2 separate regions of the Homo sapiens genome follow, and region 1 is linked to region 2. Evidence: promoter capture Hi-C in human tissues and cell types (Jung and others, 2019). All regions are on one chromosome and are shown on one strand. The core of a region is centred on a gene start or on the middle of the fragment in contact, and the rest is flanking DNA. Distances in the headings are between cores, read along the strand shown. Region 1 overlaps LOC107985126 (a long non-coding RNA gene). Region 2 holds the start of AQP4 (aquaporin 4).

The links. The method cuts DNA at HindIII sites, captures the fragments that hold promoters and counts their contacts. A contact is called where the count stands out against the background at its distance.
Region 1: a fragment that was not itself captured here is called in contact with the fragment with the promoter of AQP4 in region 2 in 2 of the 25 tissues and cell types used here (dorsolateral prefrontal cortex and lymphoblastoid cells).

What each region holds. Positions count from the first base shown.
Region 1 is chr18:27,586,235-27,590,758 of GRCh38, forward strand. All of the region lies in intron 1 of LOC107985126 (a long non-coding RNA gene), which reads right to left. Among named protein-coding and RNA genes, the nearest start is that of CDH2-AS1, 330 kb to the right of the region's middle. The HindIII fragment of the contact is 6,214 bases long and covers 1-4,524 here.
Region 2 is chr18:26,862,861-26,867,795 of GRCh38, forward strand. AQP4 (aquaporin 4) reads right to left here and starts at 2,847. Exons shown (of 5, transcript NM_001650.7): 1 at 2,798-2,847. The coding sequence starts at 2,829. It overlaps AQP4-AS1 (AQP4 antisense RNA 1), which reads left to right and starts at 2,448. Exons shown (of 8, transcript NR_026908.1): 1 at 2,448-2,500. RefSeq lists an enhancer at 96-596. The HindIII fragment of the contact is 8,928 bases long and covers 1-4,935 here.

The DNA of each region.
Region 1 (4,524 bases), core at 1,606-4,105, 720 kb after region 2:
TAAAGTGAAAATTAAGAATGTATCCTTTATAGAGTTAGGAATCTAAAGTTACATATAGATATGCAATTAAAAAAACTGTATCTAACTGTATTGACAGAAATTCAATTTTGTTTTCTAAAATTGCTTCCTAGAGAGGACAAGAAGTAATCTTTTTGAGACCACGGGCTCTATCTATGTAAACATAACTGAAAAGCTACCTAATAACCTTTCTTGAAGCTCATGTTAAATTCTTAAGTTTATATTCAGTAAAATTATTTGCATTTTTGCTCATTATTATTTCAGTAACAGATGATCTAAGGATTTTGTAACTCATCTGTAATGGTCATTTACTTATATAATTATTCCTCAAGTTGAGCTCACACAGCCAAAATAACTTGAAAGATACTATGAAGTGTAACCCCCAAATTCTTTACTCGTCAGGTAATACAGTCAATGGAATTTCTCCAAGTTGCAGCACTGGTTCTAGAAGGTGTTTGGTTTCATTAATATCCAAACCTATTATTAGATGGAAATAGTATTTGCACATATAAGCTCACCCCATCATGCTAGTCTGATTGATTTGTCAACTCCCTAAAAAAAAAAAGAAGACCCACTTGGACTTGGAGAGCATGTTGGTTCTCATAAGAGGGACTGTCTGAAAAAGTCAGGAAAATTGGAGTGCAGTTCTTGTAACATGCTGCAGAAGGGAGCTGTGAGCATGTGAAAGACCTGGACCCTGAGAAAAAAGGCCAGAGTGATATTTCCTAATTTGGTCTAAATCAGCACTGTATGTTTTACACTCCCACTATATCTACCCATGGCCCACAGGCTGATCTAAGGATTTTATACCTCATTTGTAATGGTCATTTACATATAATTCCCCACATATTGGGACAGTGGTTTTCAAATATTTTAACTCATATAATCTCACAATTTTTGAAACATGATGTCCCTCTGGCCCATTTTAATTTGTCTGAATTTTCCAATGTGAATTTTTAAAACTTTATTTTAAAATTATTATTTGGAGGGAATAATAGGTTTAATAAGATAAAATATAGTAAGAATTTATTCTAATGGAATAAGTATTTCATGTTTTGGTAAAAATAGGTTTTGACTACCTGATTAAATACCATGTTATAATTGGATTAAGTAGGCATTAACAACTGTAATATATATATAATTTGAGAAAACAAATCATGTAAATATTCTATTAATAGGTTTTTATGTAATATGTTCTTGAAAATTGTGGTAACCCTAGAAAATATTCTAGTTTTATATTTAAAAATCAGTATCATTACCTGTACTCCTTAGGTTTTTCTGAATTCAGAACATTCTAAGGTAGGGAACATCTCATCTTTAACAGACATGAATAACAGAGAACGAAAGCCATTCAGATTTAAGATATTTTAATTAATCAAAAATGGAGATATTATTAAAACCAGTACTTTAAATTATGACTATTTTAATGCCCAGAAAGTTTTAATGGATAGCCCAGAGCTAACCACCCCAGTATAATTTTGAAAGAGTATAAAGTTTGCCCTTTGTTGCTGCAATGGTGACAAGACTAGTATGAATATAAGCCCCTTCTCAGGCAGACCTACTTTTGGGAAAAGCACAACTGGAATTTGATAATCTATCAATTAGTGCTCATAAAACTCGCTATACAGAAGTACTCTGTGAAATGTTTGTTCTATACCTCCAGGGTTTATGTTATCCCAGTTTCCAGACTCCAATTTGACAGTGGATTATTAAATATCCATAAACAAATGATGAACTCAGAACTGCAAGGCAGACTATAGATCTAAACTTGGGAGTCTAGCCAAAAATCAGCACTTGAGGACTGAAAGTGAATGAGTCCTCAAATGAGATAGAAGAGCCCAAGATAGTACATTGAGGACTAAGCTTTGGAAACACCATACTTCCATGAGGAGGAGGTGACATAACTGTGGTGAGGAGGATGGATAATGTTTTTATTCCCCTTTGTGCAGTATCCATTTGCTCTTTTGATATTTTCTGTTGAGGTCTACCCACTCCTCCCAGTTTGGTGTACTTTCAAGGAAGTGAATACTACCTTAGCTCCAAGAGAAGGCACGTAACCCAAGTCTTGTCAATCAAACCTTTATATTCTTGGAGAGGTGACCAATCAGAACCACCAAGTCGCACTGATATTTTTTACCGAGTCTTCTGAAAGAGACTCATATTCTTCACCTAAATCTCTATTCCTTTACACTAAGAACTTTTGGAAGTCCTCTTAAAACCATGAGCCAACCAGGAAAGCATCACCTAGAAACAGGAAAGGAGAAACTAGTCCTGATGCCATCCTGTGCATTGTGAGCCTTGGGTCAAGCTTCACCCATAGCTCCATTTGCATCTAGCATGTTCAGTTTTATAAATGCAAATTGTTTTTCCCCATCAACTGAATTTGAGAATTGGGCTCTGTTACCTAGGACCAGCTATAATTGATACAAGACATATGCAAACTTTTTATTTTCTAAAATGGGGTGTGAAAAGCTACACACCATACATTGTATGCTTTCTTTAAATCATTCTCTGACATTTTAATAGTTGTCTTAGGGTGGACATTGTTGGCCAGTTACACCTGTATGCTTGATATGGGTTGGCTGTTTCATCCCCTCCAAATCTCATGTTTAAGTATGACCTCTAATGTTGGAGGTGGGCCTAGTGGGATATGTTTGAGTCATGGGGGCAGATCCCTCATGAACAGCTTAGCGCCCTCCCCGTGGTAATCAGTCAATGCAAGATCTGGTTGGGAGCCTGGGACCTTCCCCTCTCTCTCACTCTCTCTCTTGCCTTGTGATTTGCTGGTTCTCCCTTTGTTTTCTGCCATGATTAGAAGTTTCCTGAGGCCTCACTGGGAGCAGATGCTGGCACTGTGCTTCTCATATAGCCTGCAGAACTGTGAACCCAAACAAACCTCTTTTCTTTATAAATTACCAAGCCCCAGGTATTCCTTCACAGTGATGCAAAATGGACTAACACAATGCTCCAAATGATTAATTGCTTTTCAACATGATTAACTCATTCCCACAGCATGTATGTATGCATGCATTATGTATGTATAGACATATTTACACACATGTGCATTAACTTGTACTTTTCCTGAAACAAAGTATAAATTAATTATAAAAAGCGATATATATCTTAGAATAAATTTTTTTAAATATAAGTTTTCAAATATAATTCAGTACTTTAAAAATTATCTAGAATTTGCTAAGATTTTCTGGATATTACTGTCAAGAATGAGTCAATTCATGGCATTTCTTTTATAATTAGAAGCCACCCATTCCACAGCTGAGTGCCTCAAAGCATCAAAGGAACTTGGTATCAAAAATCCCTTTGAAAACATACATTCGTGCTTTCATCATTTTATGAATAAAATAGATTATTAAATATCTGATAATAATTCTTCCAATTAAATATTCCCAATTGATAATTTTAATTTTTTTCTCTCATTTGTTTCCTTTTTCTTATAGGGAATGGAAAAATATCTTAGTTATACTATATACAAATTAACAGTACAAGAGTTCTCTTTGGAAGATATGCTTTTTAAAGTCTCAAGTTGGACAATATGATGAAAAAAATGTATTGACCAATATTGTTTTACTAATCTTGGGTTTCAGCTCATTAGTAAACAGCTGACTAATTTTTTGAAGAGTTTAGTATATTGTTCCACTGAAAATTTGAAACCTATAGTTACAGAATTAGGGCCTTAAATATAGAAGGATGTTTATTTATCTACAGGATATATTAAGATATTATCGGATTCAACCATGATACTGAGAAGTAGCAGAATAATGCACTAACGAGAAAGGGGGAAAAAGGAGGTAGTTTCTTGAATTTGTCTACAGAATTTTTCAGTCTTTCAAAGAGCAAGGAATGAAGAAAATATTTTTGAAGTTGACAAGAAGGACACTGCTAGTTACCTTCAGAGATCAGTTTCCATAGCCCAACACAAATTAAGATCATATTTCTTTTTTGAAATATATTTCTCATGAAACGTGACAAACATACTAAAGTTACAAAGAACAATATCATGGACATAGTGTCCTTACTCATCACAAAACTATTGACTTAATATTTTTCTTTATTCACAACAGATTTATAAGAATAATAAAATGTTCTACATACACATTAAACCTCAGTATCCTCTTCCCCAATCATAATCTACTCTTTCTTCAGAGGAAAACACTATGCTACATTTATCATTCCCCTGCATAATTTTTATACTTCTACTACATATGTATGCATTCAAAAATCATACGTAGTAGTGTTTTGCATTTATTAACTTAATATAAACTCTGATGGCATGAATGATTAAATTATTATTTCAATCAAGACTTTGAGAATTTTTTAAGGTAGATATTTATGGTTATAATTCATTTATTTAAACCATTATATAGTATTTTATTGAATAAATACATACAACTCAACTATTCTCAGGTTATTTCTACTTTTCTTTGTTCTTTCTTCTTCTCTTTGCTATCACACATAGTGATGCAATGAGCATTTTGGCATTTATATCTT
Region 2 (4,935 bases), core at 1,597-4,096:
ATCAAATTCCTTAAAATATTAAGAATAAAATATATTTACCTTGTACTTAATTCCCTTAGAGCAAGTTTTTAAGTTTCGAGTACATTTTATATGCTACTTACATTTCGAACATAAAGCATTAAAACAAGGTGTGCGTGGGGGGGGGGGGTCGTCTTTTCTAGCTTTGCATTTGATTGCTTTGAAATGGCATTCTGAAAATCTCCCCCTCCCCCCAGACTCTGGATTAGGGGGAAGCCTTCTAGGAAACCAGGGTGCTGAAGGCTGTCTTTTGAGAAAGTGAACTCATTGAGGGGAGAGGAGCTTCTGGTGACTAGCAAGGGCGATGGGAACAGGCAGGGCCTCAGCTGGGACAGCGACACTCCCTCCCTCTCCTTTGCGCCAGGAACGAGCAGGCTGCCAGCGGGAGGAGTCCGGGAGCTGAGCCTGCCCAAGGGACACGCGCACCGCCCAGATCTGGGAGCGCGGCACGGGGACGTGTAAACCTCCGTCCCCAGGGAGCCTGGAGCACCTCTCAGAGGGCGGAGCAGCGGCCATTCCCGGCCCGTGGCAGGCTCCCGGGCGGCGGCCAGGTGCACACGCAGAAGCGGCCCCGCGAGCTCGCCCGCCTGCCCGCCGGCCCGGTGCATCCTGGCCGCTGGAGGTGGGGAGAGATGGGAGTGGGGGATGCTTTTAGGGGAGGAAGGACAGCCTCTCCTCGTGCCCGACCCTCTCTCACCCCTTGACCCTGACCGTACAATGCAGATAAACCTGCCAAAGGGAGCCTGGAGGCTGGGGTGTGCCAGCAATGCCCCGGTACCTTTCCTGCCTTCATGGTGCAGAGCTCGGGAAGTCAGGAAAAGCGGGTGTGGTTAGGGAAACTGTGGGCCCCTGAGCAGAAGGCTCTATGGAAAACGGCTTTTCTCTACGGTCTTTTTGATGGCTTTCTGTTACATGGGCCTATAGGACAGTGTGTCTCACCTTGTGGAGCTTCTCTGGGGAGGGTGGTGGGCAGGGAGTCTGGGAGAGGGAGGACGCCTTCTCCTCCCGTCTATATCCCTCTTGCTGTCATTAGATCTTTGGAGCAGAGAAGGGGTGGTTTGACGATATTGATGCCAACTGCTCATTCTGGCAGGAAATGGCTAGGATTCCCCTTTTGGGGGGGGGGGGCAATTACCCCAGTTACCCTATCATCTAAGACTTTTGCCCTTGTCCTTTGCCTGTGATAGTCATGAGAGCCAAGAAGTATGGAGAGTATTTACCAGAGAATCTAATTGCAGAGGACCACGTAAGGGGTTAGGCAAGAAAGCCAAGTACTTTAAGAGATTAGTATTATTGTGGCTTTCCCTTTGACAAATTGCGGGGCCCTCATTTCCCCATGTCACTGAATGTTCCCGGGAACCTGCTTTCTGCGTGGGTAGTGAGGAAATGCAGTGCCAAAAAGGGTGAGGGGAATTTCCAGCTCAGCCTAGCCCTTAGTTTGCTATGGGGCTTTGCTTTAGAGGTGGAGAGAGAAAAACCCTTTCTTGCCCAGGCCCGGGTGGCAGGATAAAGGAAGAGCTGGCTCCACAGGGGGGTGGCCAGCCACATCCCACGCATCCCCTGCCCCAGTGAAGCGAATCTCAGAAGTATGAAAAACCCCAGGTGGGATGACAACGACATCATACTCTCTAGAGGAAAAGAATGTAAAGAGACAAAAACGATGGTTGCAATGGGGCAGGGAGGGCACCCTGGAGGAGACACTAAAAATATTCCCAAAGACGGTAAACTCAGAAAAGTCACATATTGAAGAAGTTAGGAGAGTCACTTCTGAACTCACCGGCAGCCCAGGGCTGTAGCCGGGATGGCAAAGGGGGCAAAATGCGATCATAGGTGCTGTCGTTTGTGGTCAGGGTTAGGGGAGAAGGAGGAGGACAAAACAGTAGGCTAAGGAAGCTAGGTGGGCAGGAAACGTCCTTTTCAGCCCCGCAGGAGACACCAGAAGAGGTGGGACCCAGAAAAGGCCAGCCCCGCTGCTCACCCCCTTCACCTCTCACTTCTGCCATTTCCGGAGTTCTCTCCCTGCTTGGCCTGTCATGCACCTGTTTACCTCTCCAGAGGTAGTTGCTCTTTCAGCTTCAAATATTCATCAACCAGAGAAATTTAAAACAGTGCAAAACACCAACACAAAACATAAACATGCTCTTTAAGAATGTTTTTAGCTTTTTTTTTTTTTTAAATCCACAAAAATCTGATCTTCTTCCAAGGCAGATGGACCAGCCTCACTTGGCTGTGAACCGTGAAGTTTGCTGGCAGCATATACATATCTCTGGCCTTATGAGGGCTCACCCTAGCGTCACCCATAGCACCCTGCTTTTATTGTCAGTGTTCCCTTATATGTTCACAGTCACTGGAAATGATCAACACAATTAGATTTGCTTCTTTTGCCCCAGAACAAAGCGGGTTTGTTGATGTACTGAATCGGACACATTACTTTCTAGCTGAACACTCAGCTTCATCCACTCCAGGACAGCTGAGCGTCTGGGTGAGTAATTTTTCCGAAGAAATGTACTATAGCTAGATTCACCTCCATAGGGTAATTTTCCTGGGCTTTTGCAGATCTGAAACATATGGAGGATTTGGCTAAAAAGCATCCCTTTTCTTCTACCTTCTCTATGCCTCTCTTCTGAAAATGCCCAGTACTCAGATCTAAAAGAACCACCCACCTGCCCTATAGCTGCCTTCCAGATTCTGCCTAAGAAGGCACAAACATCTATAATAAAAGAGACAGTTTCATCTTTTGGCCCTAAGCGTTGTTCCCTTAAGGCAAAGAAGGACTTACCCCCACCGCCTTGCTGTGGGTCTGTCACTCATGCCTTCCCCAGCCAGAGTGCAGCTCTCATTGCCTGCCCCGCAGCTCCCTGTGTGCTGGGAGTCAGATTACGGCCACTTGTCTGATTGGGTTTTTGGAGTGTTAGGGGTGGAAAGATTCTGCACCATGTGGCAATCGCTAAGTTATATTTGAACTTGAAGTAGCTTTTCTGTACCTGATCACTGTAGACACAGGGCATTTCAGGAATGCAAAAACATTTACTTAATTTTTTTTTTTTTGAGACAGTAATTTTTGAAAATGAGGATTTCCTTAAATCTTTATTTGAATTCTTTCTACCATGAAGAATTGTTCAGAATTTGTCTTGTTTGGTTATATGTTGTAGTTGAAATTGGGCAATTATTAGAAAATGAATTTGTATAATCCAGCAGTTAACATGAATTTAGATAGAGACTTCAGTGCATTTAGTTTTTAGCCAATGAATTCTGTTTGAAGTTTTTGATCTGAGAAGAAGCATTATAAGAACAATATATAACTGCAGCTCCATTTATAGCACAGGCAGCACTGATTTGGACAATAAAAATAAGGAAACATAGGAAATACAGGAAAAAAGACTGCTCTAGGGTGCTCACCTGACTGTTACATTAATAATCTGGGGATAAGAAGTAGCAAACTTAAAAAATATCAAAGTTGGATGGGGACGAAATTATGGGGAACTGTAGGTAAATTTAACCTCTGGAAACTTAGGGACAGGACTGATTTTATAATTTACTGGTCCCAGTGCAAAATGAATGCAGGACACCTTGGTAAAACACTATTTAAATTTCAAGATTGCGACAGCAGAGCATAAATAAAGGCTGGGTGCTCCTAAAGGCAGGACCTTGTGCAGCTGCGCAGGCTGCATGCTTATGAAGACGTCCCTGCCGAAGGAGTTTGGTGAACTCTAGAAGGGTCTAACCATTAGCTACCTGCATCACCATCTCATTATTATTTTTTCTTTAAACAGATCTTAGGTGCATGGGATTGGAATAATCAGAATTCCTGATTTATGACACTCTGTCATCACTCGTGCATGTATGGCCCTCTTATTTTCTAATAGTTAATTATAATGGCTTTTAAATAATGTAATGAACATCTATGAACCCACCACTCAACCCAACATCTAGAACAATGATAATAACTCACATTACCTACGGATGCCTCCCTTTTCCCACTTTATATTTCAGATTGGATTATTTTTTTCCAGAATGAAGTATGACAAGAAAGAAATACATGAGAGAAGAAAGACTGTTATACTTTTAAATCCCAGTTACAGTTTTTTTGTTTTGTTTTCATTTGCGTACTTGAGACATGGGAATGGGTGAAGAGCTCTCATTAGAAAGAGGAATTCAAAATTTGAGTGTGACTTTCAGAGGAGCACTTTATTACTGTTTCAAGCATTCTCAGCTAACCAAGATTGAATTTAGATTCTTAAGAATATGGTTGCACACTTATTATTGTACATCAGTGGTTTCTACCTTTAATATGCTCCCTGAAAGTCAGAATAAATTCTGATGAGAGGGGCAGGGAGAATTTATATGAAGCCACAGAGAACACTTAAAACATTTCATATTGATTCTTAAAGCTGTTTACCATTTGGATTTTAGAATGAGATTTTTAAAAGGTGCAAAATGTTTGTTACAAATTGGAAAACTGTGAGTTTCTAGGCAGATGTGCTAAATGTCATTACTCTGACCCTAAGACATTTGAGTCAGAAGTATTTTGAGGGCTGTGAAGCTAAGGCACAATGTAGCCATGTTTAGGGGCTTCCTTGTGAATGAGTACGGTGGGCAGATCCTCAGGAATCTACAGAGTGGGGCTCTTTAGGGCTACCGGTCTGGTCGGTGGGTGGACATTTTCTAGGTCCACTCTTTACAGGTTGTCCTAGGCTTATTAGCATTCTCTGCACAGCCTCGGCAGTTGCAGTTACCATTTTACAAAGTGCCAGCAAAACTTGGTTACCACGGTTTCTCAGCCTCTTTCCCTGTTTTCTGGCTGGCTGATGCTTTCCAGGGCAGTTCCTAAGGGATGACTGTTCCCATCAAGGAAGGGGTCACCCTCATTGGCTCCAACCCCTACACTTATTAGTACTCTCAGCAGAGTAGCTTAAA